Linked DNA regions of Homo sapiens: region 1 is linked to region 2. Evidence: promoter capture Hi-C in 16 types of primary human blood cells and fetal thymus (Javierre and others, 2016). All regions are on one chromosome and are shown on one strand. Each heading gives the region's core, a stretch centred on a gene start or on the middle of the fragment in contact. The rest is flanking DNA. Distances are from core to core; before and after follow the strand shown. Region 1 has its middle 490 kb from the start of CCDC85A. Region 2 holds the start of CCDC85A (coiled-coil domain containing 85A).

Evidence for each region. Contacts are between HindIII fragments. The CHiCAGO score rates a contact against its expected background, and 5 or more counts as called.
Region 1: a fragment that was not itself captured here is called in contact with the fragment with the promoter of CCDC85A in region 2 in 1 of 17 cell types (endothelial precursors); the score reaches 5.0 in endothelial precursors.

The regions. Positions count from the first base shown.
Region 1 is chr2:56,667,754-56,674,102 of GRCh38, reverse strand. No RefSeq gene overlaps it. Among named protein-coding and RNA genes, the nearest start is that of CCDC85A, 490 kb to the right of the region's middle. The HindIII fragment of the contact is 1,591 bases long and covers 3,362-4,952 here.
Region 2 is chr2:56,179,824-56,185,959 of GRCh38, reverse strand. It overlaps CCDC85A (coiled-coil domain containing 85A), which reads right to left and starts at 1,970. Exons shown (of 6, transcript NM_001080433.2): 1 at 1,060-1,970. The coding sequence starts at 1,335. It overlaps LOC100129434 (a long non-coding RNA gene), which reads left to right and starts at 190. Exons shown (of 3, transcript NR_125368.1): 1 at 190-262. RefSeq lists a silencer at 1,971-2,300. The HindIII fragment of the contact is 6,654 bases long and covers 1-2,583 here.

The DNA of each region.
Region 1 (6,349 bases), core at 2,908-5,407, 490 kb before region 2:
ATCTTCCTCATCCTCAAAGGGATATTACTGAAAATAGAGACATAGGTCGTTAAGATACAGCTAGCTAGATAGATAAAATGTACAGGCAAATAAAATATTATATATGTTTACACAATAATTACATGTGAGTACCTAATAGGTACTTGTGTAGTATAAGCCTTCTTAGACTTCTTTCTGCTTTCACACAGACTACTAAATTATAACTTAGTCATAATATTAAATTTTAGTTTATTTCAATTTTCTTTTTTCCCCCAAGATAGCAGAGTAGGGGATTTTAGTATGCCTCTGCCACTTGGAAGCAGCAAGATAGTGCATAAAGATCAACTTTCTGTGCTTTAATTCAAGAAGGAAAACAGGATTCCACTGAAATTGTGATGTACATCCCAGATCCCAAGGAGGAAAATGTGGTCCAACAGCCTCTGTGACAGAATCTGGCTGATAAAAATGAGTGAAACCCCAGTACGTAAAAGATGCAGGGAACTTCCTTCTGTGACTCATCTTTCCACTGGGAATCCAAGCAACCCAGGCAAAGGGAGAGCACTTCATTTCTCCCAAGACCTGGAGCTAACATAGGGAAAGGTTTGGAGGCATTGAGAGGAAAACGCACCAGGAAAAACTAGAGGCATTTTCCTAGACCTAGAACTGAGAGCAGGATGCCATTTTTAATCTGAATGTATACAAAGTCAGTCCTTCTTTGGGGAACCACCAGTGTAGCCATGCAGGCATTTCCAACTCAGGCTAGAGATTGGTGCATTTGTTCTGGAGCAGGGTAGGTACCTCCAAAGCCAGAATTTTGGAAAGCACCTCAGAAATAGGCATTAGGACTGCTCTGGGGCAGGAGGAGAGCTGCTACAGCTGCACTTTCTTCTGGTAGGCAAGGCTTGCAGTCAAGGCCAGCTTGGTGACCTGGAACTAGTTTGCATGTGTCATTGCTGGGTACTCCAGCCTGATCCCCTGAGATAGTGGTACAGCAGGGATCACTCTGATCCACCCCAGGCAGAACTCCAGGCATTCAAAGCACTTACTCATATGGATTAGCAGCCTGACCTGCCCCACCCTTCCTGTGCAGAGATCTTGGTTCTGTGAGGCCCTTTTCACTTCATATCTAGGAAAACCTCCAAGCATTCAGAGCAACTTCTCTCCTGGATCAGCAACCTGAGCTGCTCCACCCTACCGGGGCATAGATTGTGGTGCAGTATGTCCTCTCCACTTTATGCTCAGGTATATCTCCAGGCATCCAGAGCACTCAGTCAGCAGCCTGACCTGTCCCAACCTTCTGTGCAGAGATCATGGTGCAGGGGGCCCTCTCCATTTCACATCCAGGCAGATCTCCAGGTATTTGGAGCACCTGCTCACCCAGCTTGGCATTCTGAACTGCTTCATCCTTTCTGCACAGAGATCACAATGCAGCAGGACCCTTTCTGTTCCATGCCCAGAGACTGTGGTACAGTGGGGCCTTCTCCACTCAATGCCTAGGCAGATCTCCATGCAGTTAGAGCACCAGCTCACCTGGATCAGAAGGTCAAACCACCTTACTTCCTACAGCAGAGCACTCTGCACTCTACACCCAGGAATGTTTTTAGTCATCTTGAGCAACTGCTCTCCTGGATTAGGTTTAGGCTGCCCCCTGCCTGTGCAGGTCTCCCAGCTCCCTGCCTAAGCTCACTTCAGGATGCTTGGTCACCAGCCACTGGACTTTCCCATGGCACTGATGTCGTGCCTGTTATCAGGAGACCTGAAGCTGGGCCTGCCTGGTCTGGCTCTGTCCATCTTGCCTCCAACCCCCTGGGGCTAAGCAGCGAGCTGAAACCACTGGGCACTCCACAGATCAGCCCATTGTCCAAGGCAACAGAGAGCTTCTCCTGATACATAAGGATCAAGTATATACCCAACCACGTTGGCTGCATCCAGTTCTTACCCATAAGTGCCATCTACTGGCTTGTAGATCAAACCACACAACCCATGTAAAACCTACCGAAAGAAGTGCAGAGGACTACATATGGAAGCAAAGCCAAAAGACCATACCTAACATTCTCTATAGACACACAATCTATGGAGGGGAAAAGGGGGGAAATCGAAAGAAAAATAAATAAACAATATTATAGGGGAGAAAAATTCCTACCCAAATGAAAATAATTAGAAAAATTTGGAAGTGTCAGCATTTCCAAATGAGAAGAAACCAGTGAAAGAATTCTGCCACCATGAAAAATCAGAATGTATTATATGTATAATACATACGATACAAAATGTATAATAGCAGTACCACCAAAGTATCACACTAGCTCTCCAGCAATGGCTTCTAACCAAAATGGAAGCTCAAAAATGACAGACAAAGAATTCAAAGCATGGGTTGCAAGGAAGCTCAAGAAGATCTTAAAAAAGGTTGAAAATTAACAAAAAGAAACTTCTAAACCAATCCAGGAAATAAAGGAAGAGATAAACATCTTAAAATAAATCAATCAGAGCTTCTGGAATTGAAAAAACAATTTCAAAATATAATTGAAAGCTTTATCAATAGATTGAACCAAGCAGCAGAAAGAATGTCAGAGCTTAAAGACTAGTCTTTCAAACTAATTCAGACAAAGACAAGGAAAAAAAAATCTTAAAAAATTAATGGGTTGGGAGCAGTGGCTCATGCCTGTAATCCCAGCACTTTGGGAGGCCGAAGAGGGCGAATCACAAGGTCAGGAGTTTGAGACCAGCCTGGCCAACATGGTGAAACCCCGTCCCTACCAAAAATACAAAAAATTAGCTGGGCGTGGTGGTGGGTGCCTGTAATCCCAACTACTAGGGAAGCTGAGGCAGGAGAATTGCTTGAATCTGGGAGGCAGAGGTTGTAGTGAGCGAAGATCATACCACTGCACTCCAGCCTGGGTGACGGTGTGAGACTCCATCTCAAAAAAAAAAAAAAAAAAAATGAAGTTTTTGAGAAATATGGGATTAGGTAAAGCATAATCCTCCTAGTTATTGGCATTTCTGAGACACAAAGAGAAAAATTAGACAACCTGGAAAACATATTTGAGGAAATAATTTTAGAAAATTTTTCTGATCTTGCTAGAGAGGTAGGCATTCAGATACAAGAAATCCAGGGAACATCTGTGACAAGCTATAGAAAATGAACCAAATCAAAGCATGTAGTCACCAGATTGTCCAAGATCAATGCTAAAGAAAAAGTCTTACAGGCAGAGAGAAAAGGGCAGATACCATAAAAAGGGAAACTTATTAGGCTAACAGCAGAATTTTCAGCAAAATTCTTAGAAGCCAGGAGAGACTGGAGACCTTTCTTCAGCACATTCTTAAAAAAAAAAAAAAAAAAAAAAAAAAGAAATTACAAGAATTTCATACTCTGCCAAATTAAGCTTCATAAGCAAGGAAAAATAAAATATTTTCCAGACAAGCAAGTACTAACGGAATTTGTTACCACTAGATCAGCCTTACAGAGTAAATAAATAACCTGCAGAATGGGAGAAAATATTTGTAAAATATGCATATGACAAAGGCCTAATATCCCGAAATCTGAGGAACTTAAACAATTCAATGAGCAGAATAAATAACCTCATTAAAAATGGGCAAGGACATGAATACACACTTTTCAAAAGAAGACATACAAGTGGCCAAAAAACATGAATAAATACTCATTATTAATTATCCGAGAAATACTAATCGAAACCATAATGAGATACCATCTCACACCCGGCAGAATGGCTATTATTAAAAAGTCAAGGCCAGGCACAGTGGCTCATGCCTGTAATCGCAGCACTTTGGGAGGCCGAGGCAGGCAGATCACCCGAGGTCAGTGGTTCAAGACCAGCCAGGCCAACATGGCAAAACCCCATCCCTACTAAAAATACAAAAATTAGCTAGGTGTGGTAGTGTGCGCCTGTAATCCCAGCTACTCGGAAGGCTGAGGCAGGAGAATCACTTGAACCCAGGAGGCGTATGTTGCAGTGAGCCAAGATCATGCCACTGCACTTCAGCCTGGCCAGGAGACAGAGCAAACTCTGTTTCAAATATAATAATAACAAAAGTAAAAAAACAACAAATGCTGGTGAGCCTCTGAAGAAAAGGGAATGCTTATACACTGTTGGTGGGGATATAACTTAGTTCAAACACTGTGGAAAACGGTTTGGAGATATCTCAAGAAACTTAAAACAGAACCATCATTCGGCCCAGCAACCCCATTACTGGGTATCTATTCAAAAGAAAATACATTGCTCTACTTAAAAGACACATGCACTAGTATATTCATCACAGCTCTATTCACGAGAGCAAAGACATGGAATCAACCTAGGGGCCTATCAACAGTGGATTGAGTAATGAAAACATGGTACATATCCACCATGGAATACTATTCAACTATAAAATAAAAGATACCCTTGGCAGAAACATGGATGCAGCAGAGGCTATTACCCTAAATGAATTAATGCAGGAACAGAAAGCCAAATACCACATATTCTCACTTATAATTGAGAACTAAATACTAGATGCTTATGGATGTAAAAAAGGCAACAATAGAATCTGGGGACTACTAGAAGCATGAGGGAGGGCTAGGAGCAAGAGTTAAAAAACTGACATTTGGGTACCATGTTGACTATCTCAGTGACAGTATCATTCATATCCCAAACCTAAGAATCACACAATATACCCATGGAACAAACCTGCACATGTACACCCTGAATATAAAATAAAATTTGAAATAATTTAAAATAAATTTTAATAATATCATTAACTCATCCCATTAAAAATTTTTGATTATGTATTATGTCTCAGAGCCAATTCAAATATTTACAATTCAAAGAAGCATAAGACATAGCCTTCAAAAAGCTCATGGTTTAGTCAGTAATATGTATCATTATAAAATATTGTGGTAAATGCAAGATAAACGTATAGACTAGGAAATCAGGAGTAACAAAGGCGAGAAAATGATCAATTTTGCCTTGGTAAATCAAGCTTTACAGATTAAGTTGAATTATCAGAAACTCCCCACTCAGATAAGAAAAAGAAGACCAGTGAAAGTAAGAGGAGCTTAGGGTATAAATTTGTATAGTATTACTTTACTGCTGAAAGAAATCATGGGGAAGCAAGGGGAAAGGAAATGGAGAGTAAGGCATTAAAGAACCGAGAGCAAAGAGGAGAGAGAGCATTACTGAGCGGGCCACTGCTTGAAATCAAGCACAACTAATTTTGCTTGATATCAGACTGCCTTCTGAGAGGGCATATTTACTAGCCCATTTTATAAGAGTCTGTCTACGTGAAGAAGGATTGAGAATTTATGCACCATGTTTCACTTCCAATTCCACCCTGCACATGCATAGGTGGCAAGTGAATCCTATGGCATTTAACACCTCACTGGCAACCAGCAAACCACAGTTGGAAAGGCAAGAGATGCAGAACGCAAGCAGGAGACAAGGTGCTATCATATAAAGTTAATGATGATAGCAGTCAGAGTAAAATAAGTGGCCATGGACAAAGGGTAGATCAAGCCAAAAACAGTGGAAGTAGCATTTAGAATATGTCTCATGCAGAAAACTCTTTGCACCACTCAGATTCATTTGTGACCTCCCATTTTGCCCAGCTCCCACGTTGCAAAATGATTCTCCATTTTTTGTGAAATTTTTGTGCCCTCACTCCTCCAAAAGAGTAAAGTATAAATCACAGAAACGCAGTGTCTGAAAAAATTTTAGGCAGAAGGGTTAGTAAAACAAGCTATGGTATTCACTGCTGCAACTTATCCACCATAAACCTCTATAAGAGAGGACCATAACACTGTTTTAGATACCCTGGCATCAGAATCAGCTTAGATGCTATAGTGAACTGTTTTTAAATGTCTGTGTAAACCTCCTTCCCAGGGCACTGTAACTCTGGCAAAAGTCACAGATCCCTTTGGGAACAAAACAAGGGAATATTTACCACATGTATTTGTGATGATGCCGAGGACTTACAGTCTCCTTCAACTGCTGGACCCTGGGTTAGCAAACTGATTTAAATCTGGAAACTGGCAGGACATGATATTCCATTTCAGTGGCTGATATAACAGTATTATTATTATTATTATTATTATTATTATTATTATTTTGACATGGAGTTTCACTCTTGTCACCCAGTTTGGAGTGCAATGGTGTGATCTTGGCTTACCGCAACCTCCGCCTCCCAGGTTCAAGTGATTTTCCTGCTTCAGCCTCCCGAGTAGCCGGAATTACAGGCGCCCGCCACCATGCCTGGCTAATTTTTTTATTTTTAGTAGAGACAGGATTTCACCACATTGGCCAGGCTGGTCTCGAACTCCTGACATCAGGTGATCCACCTGCCTTGGCATCCCAAAGTGCTGGGATTACAGGCATGAGCCACC
Region 2 (6,136 bases), core at 721-3,220:
GGGGAAAAGAACAGCTTGTGCCTTCGGGAATTTGCTCCCTGAAGTCCCTGCAGTGATTTCGTTTGTGTCTGGCTTCCTACAAACAAAGCAGAACAATGAGAGGAAGGAATACCAGGAGGCACCAGCGCTAGCTGGAAGGAGAGGAAGTTTGTGGTGCTCGCCAGCAGGGCGGTTCCCGGCCACTAGTGTACTGCAGCTGGGCAGGCACACTCCTCGCAGACCCGGCGCTCTCCAAGGAGAAAAGAAAGTTAGTGGGCTTGGGGTACGTTTCCCTTCTTTTCCTAGAAGAGGGTGGCAGGGGGGCTGGCTCAGAAAGAAACCATCACTGACCAACACTTGGGGTACTCTGTCAAAATGCTGCTCCTTCCATACTGAGTCTCTTTGCTCCTCCTCTTTCCCCCAGTCAACCTGGGGTTAAGTGGGAAGGGGAGTAAGGCAACTCCAGGGGATGCCTTCCAAACTCCGGGAGAGGGAAAGCACAGGAATTGGGAGAAGACGTGAAGGCAGAGCTTGAACTCCTATGTACCCGGTGACACAAGACTGCTCTGAGGGTGGCGCCCGCTGCTTCTCCCGGGCGCCCCGCCAGCCGCTCTCCCTGGCAGTGGCGCCCTTTCCTCGCCCTCTGCCCGCCCAAGAGCTGCTGGCCCAGAGCAGCCGCATTCCCGACCCTCCAAGGCGAAGATCCCCTGGATTCACCCCCTCACTGGCCTTTCCGCCTAACTGACTGAAACCCGGCTCCCCAGGCACAGATTTTCCAGCCTCCCTAAGAAATGAAAGGTTCGCGTGCCCTTCACCTCCCTCCCTGCTTTCCAGCGTCCTCAGCGCCTCCCCGAACAGCCAGACAGTGGAGCGCCCCGTGTTGGGGAGAGGAGGGGAGCAGACGCCTCCGAAGTTTGGAAAAGTTACACAGGGGCTGGGGACTGGGGGTAGGGGGTGCCGACCGGGAGAAGGGGAGGGTCACCTGTTGAGGGAGGGAGGGAAAGTTTGCCTGGCCCCGCCTCCTCCTCGGGGCACCCCGCTCCCAGCCGCGCCGCGCCTCCCCACCTGGCCCGCGCTCACCTTGAGGCCGCGGATCTCGCCGAGGTGCAGCTGCAGGCGGCGGTTCACCTCGCGGATGAGGTTGCTGTGGTCCAGCATCGCGCTCACCTTCTCCGCCTCGGCGCGCCGCAGGCTGCGGATCAGCTCCTCCTTGCTCCACTGCAGCAGCTCCTCGTCCGACACTTTGGACAGGTCCTCCACCGGCGCGGGCGGGGCCGCGGACGAGCCGGCCGGGGCTGGGGAACAACTTTCCGCCGCCGCCGCAGCCGCCGCCGCGCCTCCGGCCGCCTTCGACATGGTATCCGCGGGGTGGCAGGTGCAAGTGGGTGGAAGAGGCGAGGCGACTCCCGAAGGCGCGGGCGCGGCGAGGCCGCCTCCGCCCACACCCCTGTGCGCTCCGGCGAGTCAGCGGCACCGCCCAGGGGCCGCTGGGTTGGGGCGGCGGGGGTCGCGCTGGGTGGCCATCCTACCTCGCCATCCCCGCGCGCGCGCCCGCGCTCCCCCAGGGCCCGGCAGCCAGCCGCTTGCTGCTGCCGAGGCCCGTCCCAACTCCGCGCAAGTCCATGGTGAGGGGCACTGGGGAGCCCGGGGCTGCCGCGGGAAATCCTCGGGGACAGCGGGGGAGCTGCACCGCCGTTCCCCTGCCCTCTCCTCCGCCCTAAGCCGAGACTGTCGCCCCCCGCACTCTCTGCCCTGCACACAGGCGTGCACGCACACGCACTTTCCTCCCCCTTGCCCAGCTGCAGCCCCCGGCTTCTCCCCTCTCCTAGCTTGGAGGGCGCGCCGGGCACCGCGGCGCCTCCCCGGCTGCTCTAGCGACGCCGCCGCGGCTGCCCGAAGGCTGCTGCGCTCCTCCTGCCGCCTTCGCTGCGCCCGCGGCCGCTCCTAGGCTGCTCCGGAAAGCCTTCGATTTGCAGAGCGGAGTCGAGAAGGGGTGGAGGGTGGGGGACCGGCTGGAGGAGGAGCCTGGAGCTGGGGCCACCCGTAACCCGCAGCAGCTCCCGCATGGGCTGGACGCAGCTGCCACTCGACCGCTGCCCGGGCCCTCGAGGTGCGCTCCCGGCTGTCCTGCCCGGGAGGGCTGGGGGCGCGGCTCTTTCTGCGCCCGGGCGGGTGGGGCTGGAATGGGGAGAAGGTGAGGAGCTGTGGCCGCCCGGTCTTTGGGAGGCTCGCGCGCGCCACCGTGTGGCGGAAGAAGCTCCCTCCTCTGCCCTCTGCACACCGGCCTTGTCACCAGGCAGGGGAAACAGCTGCTGACCCAAATGCGAGGTGCTTCGTATTTGGAGGGATCGGGGATCAGGAAAGATGGGGTAGCAGGACCTGAGGGATAACCAGTTATTTGCACTTTGGAGAATGGGAGGAGAGGCAAATGGCAAAAACGGGGGTTGGGGAAAGGGGCAGCTTAAGAAAATCCAAATGGTCTGAAAAGGGCGAAAAGAGGCGTCAGGGCACTGCTCTTATGGGGCTACCCATCCCCACCCCCCACTCTCGCCCCACCCCTAGGCCTTTGTGTTTTCTAAAAATCCACTACTCTATGAAGAAGCTTCGGGAGAAGGTACTGGATCTTTTAAATTTTTATTTGAAAAATATCAAAGCCTTTAGGCGAAAATAAAATACCTTCATCTCCTGCTTCCTGAAACCTGGATTTTAAGGTCAGCACAGTCACCTCCCCTCGGAGCAAAGCAAGCCCCCTCAGGCAAGCTGAAATGCCAGCCAAGGAGATTTCCATTTTCTTCTATGCCGCAGGCTGCCAGGCGTTTACTGGGTCGGCTTTTTTATGATGGTTATTTCTGGAAGGAGGAAGTCTGAGTCCCTGGCTTCTATCTTTGGGCTATCCTCTTGTAAAGTTGGGTGGAATCGTCTCTGGGCTGAAAACATGCTTTTGCCTAAAGAGGTGGATGCCCTTGACCACCGCATGTTATTTCCAGTGGGGTACAGGGCCGGAAAATGGCAAGGATCTACCCCCACCGGGTTTCAGTTAACCCGGGTGCAGAGGGAATAATCTCTATCTGGTAGGATGATAATCAAAATCAGTCCCTTCACCCGCCGGTCAGTGCGTGTCCCCTATTGGGGACACTGAGACCTGGCTCCCGGGAGAGGCAAGGAAATGTGGTACTGCTTACGGTGACCAAATGGCCTTAACATTCCCCTCAGCTTAACTAAACTTTAGACAGGTTTCTTCCTAACTGTAGGCCCCAGACCTTCCTTTTCTCAGAGCATTTACTTTAGCCAACTTCCATTGGTGAATGTTTCCTCTGACCCTTTGACATGTAAATCTCTCCGCCTCTTGCTGGGTTTTACAGCCTGGGGATCTTTCTCAGGGATCTGTGAGGCATCCCTTTGAAATGTAATCATCAAGGAAAAAAGGGTCCCTATCTCCTAGTGTTTGTGGAGAGGAGGAGCCTAACTTTAATAAGTTCCAATTAGGAAACACAAATGGCCTCATTACACTGACCAACTTCCCATCCTAATCTCCTCCACTAGTCTTCTACTAGTTCCCCTCTCCCTCCCTCTCTCTCTTCCCTATTGCAATAGCCTTGAATAATTCCCCCTTGTCTGTTTAACTATATCGGATGCAATTTTTCTTTGACACCTCCAAGCCGCTCTCACGCCCACAGAAGGCTCTGCTCAACACAGTTCCTAAGACCAGTTTTGTCACAGAAAGGGAAAGTGAAGGTCAGAAAAAGATAAGTCCTATCTCTGTTACTTGTTAGTTCTTGTCCTTGAACAAACCATCCGACCTTACTGGCCCTCGGGCAGCTAATGATATGGTATACAAGAAGCGCTTGATCGAGCCACCCTACAGAAATGCAACCTTACTATTACTGATATTACATATTACATTGGGCAGCCTCTTGTCTAGAAATAGGAACCAGGACTTCTGTTTATTCCTCCATCACGGGTTCTTCAAGAGTCGTATTCTAAAATGAAACAGCCAGCCCCCTTCTCTGCTAACTCCCTCTGATCAGTTAACACCAAATAGATATGAGAAATCAGAGAGATGGCTGAGAGGAAAAATTAGACTTGTGTTGGGAAGACAAGGAAGAAGGAAAGCCAAAAAAAAAAAAAAAGTCTCCACAAATTATATACACTAGCAGTGGATTACAGTTGAGCTAGATCACCTTAAGGTTTTCATGTTTCTAATTTTGGTCATTGATTCAGAATAATAATTATCTGCATGAATGAATAATGTTGCTTCATGTTGCTAAGGTCATGTATGGTGTCAGGAGCTTCATTTGACTGCTAAAAACAGAAACTCAAAAAACAGTCACTTTAAAAAAGTCATTTATTTTTTCTCACCTACCTGGTATTCTAAAGAGAGGCAGCTGAGGGCTGGTATGGTATCTTCATGAGGTCGTCAAAATCTTAGGCTCCTTCTCTCAGCTCAGTCCCCTTTGGGATGATTGCCTCGTGTCCATAACATGGTTGGTGGAACTCTAGCCATCCAGCTACGTGTAAGGCAGGAAGAAGGTAATAACAACTGCAAAGGGGCACATGCCCCTTTAAAAACTTTTCCTGGTGGCCGGGGGCGGTGGCTCATAACTGTAATCCCAGCACTTTGGGCGTCCGATGCAGGTGGATCATTTGAGGTCAGGAATTCAAGACCAGCCTGGCCAATATGGTGAAACCCCATCTTTACTAAAAATACAAAAATTAGCTGGGCATGGTGGTGCGTGCCTATAATCCCAGCTATCGGGAGGCTGAGGCAGGAGAATCGCTTGAGCCTGGGACGCGGAGGTTGTGGTGAGCCAGGATCGTGCCACTGCACTCCACTCTGGTCGAAAGAGTGAGACCCTGTCTCAAAAAAAAAAAAAAAAATCCTGGTAATTGACCCAGTGAATTTTGTTTATGTTCTAATAGGCAGAGCTTACCATATAATCACCTCCCAGCTGCAAGGGAAGCTAGGACAGTGTTTTAAGTTGGGTATATTAAATGGAGATTTCTGAAAACCAGCCATAAATGACCCTACGTCTTTAGTCCTGATGGTTTTATATCATATAATTTTCTTCAGTCAACTCTATTTCCCCCCAGCTCACTGTTACTCAGCCTAGGTTCTCACTAAGTCTCACCTGGCCCTTCTCACTGGTCCCTCTGACTACTGCATCACCTCTCTCGAATCTGCTTTCCACACAACTTCCCAAGTGAATCATCTCAAAAAGTCAAGTCTAGCTACTTTACCCCTGAGACAGATTGAATTATTGCTGATAATTTTTCACAACCTCCCTACAAAATTAATTAACATCGGCCAGGTGTGGTGGCTCACGCCTGTAATCCCAGCTCTTTGGGAGGCCAAGGCGGGTGGATCACGAGATCAGGAGATCTAGACCACCCTGGATAACACGGTGAAACCCCGTCTCTACTAAAAATACAAAATATTAGCCGGGCGTGGTGTCGGGTACCTGTAGTCCCAGCTACTCGGGAGGCTGAGGTGGGAGAATGGCGTGAACCCAGGAGGCGGAGCTTGCAGTGAGCCAAGATAGCACCACTGCACTCCAGCCTGACGGCATAGCGAGACTCTGTCTCAAAAAAAAAAAAAAAAAAAAATTAACATCACCTTCCACCATGTGATGTTGTAGCACCTCCCCTACAGGGGGCAGTTTTTCTCCCCTCCCTACTGGTATTGAAAATCATATTGCAAGCATATGACTTGCTGTACTAACGCATGTGTGTGCACCTGACAGTGTACCCCTTCTCTGAAGAGGTCTCAAAAGGCGTCTGTCTGCCCACTCACCCGTCTGTTCTTTCCACGCTTCACCAGGAGAAGAGCTAACCTTGGGTAGCTGCTGTTCCTTCAGTCTGAGCCACACACTCAGCCACCCCAGCCAACCTGAAGATCTGCAGCATGAAGCAGAGCTATGCTCACAGACTCACAGATCTGTGTGTGAGAAAACAAGACTGTTGTTTAAGCTACCGACTTTTGGGGAGATTTATTGTGCAGCATTACTAATGCAATAGTTAGCAGATACAACTCCCCTGCCTAAATCCCTTTGGGGGCATCTCAGCACCTTTCTGTGGAGTGAAGCTACATTTCTTAGCAGAGCATGTAAGATGGACACAGTCTGATGCTTGCTTACTTTTTCAGCTCCAACTCCTACCA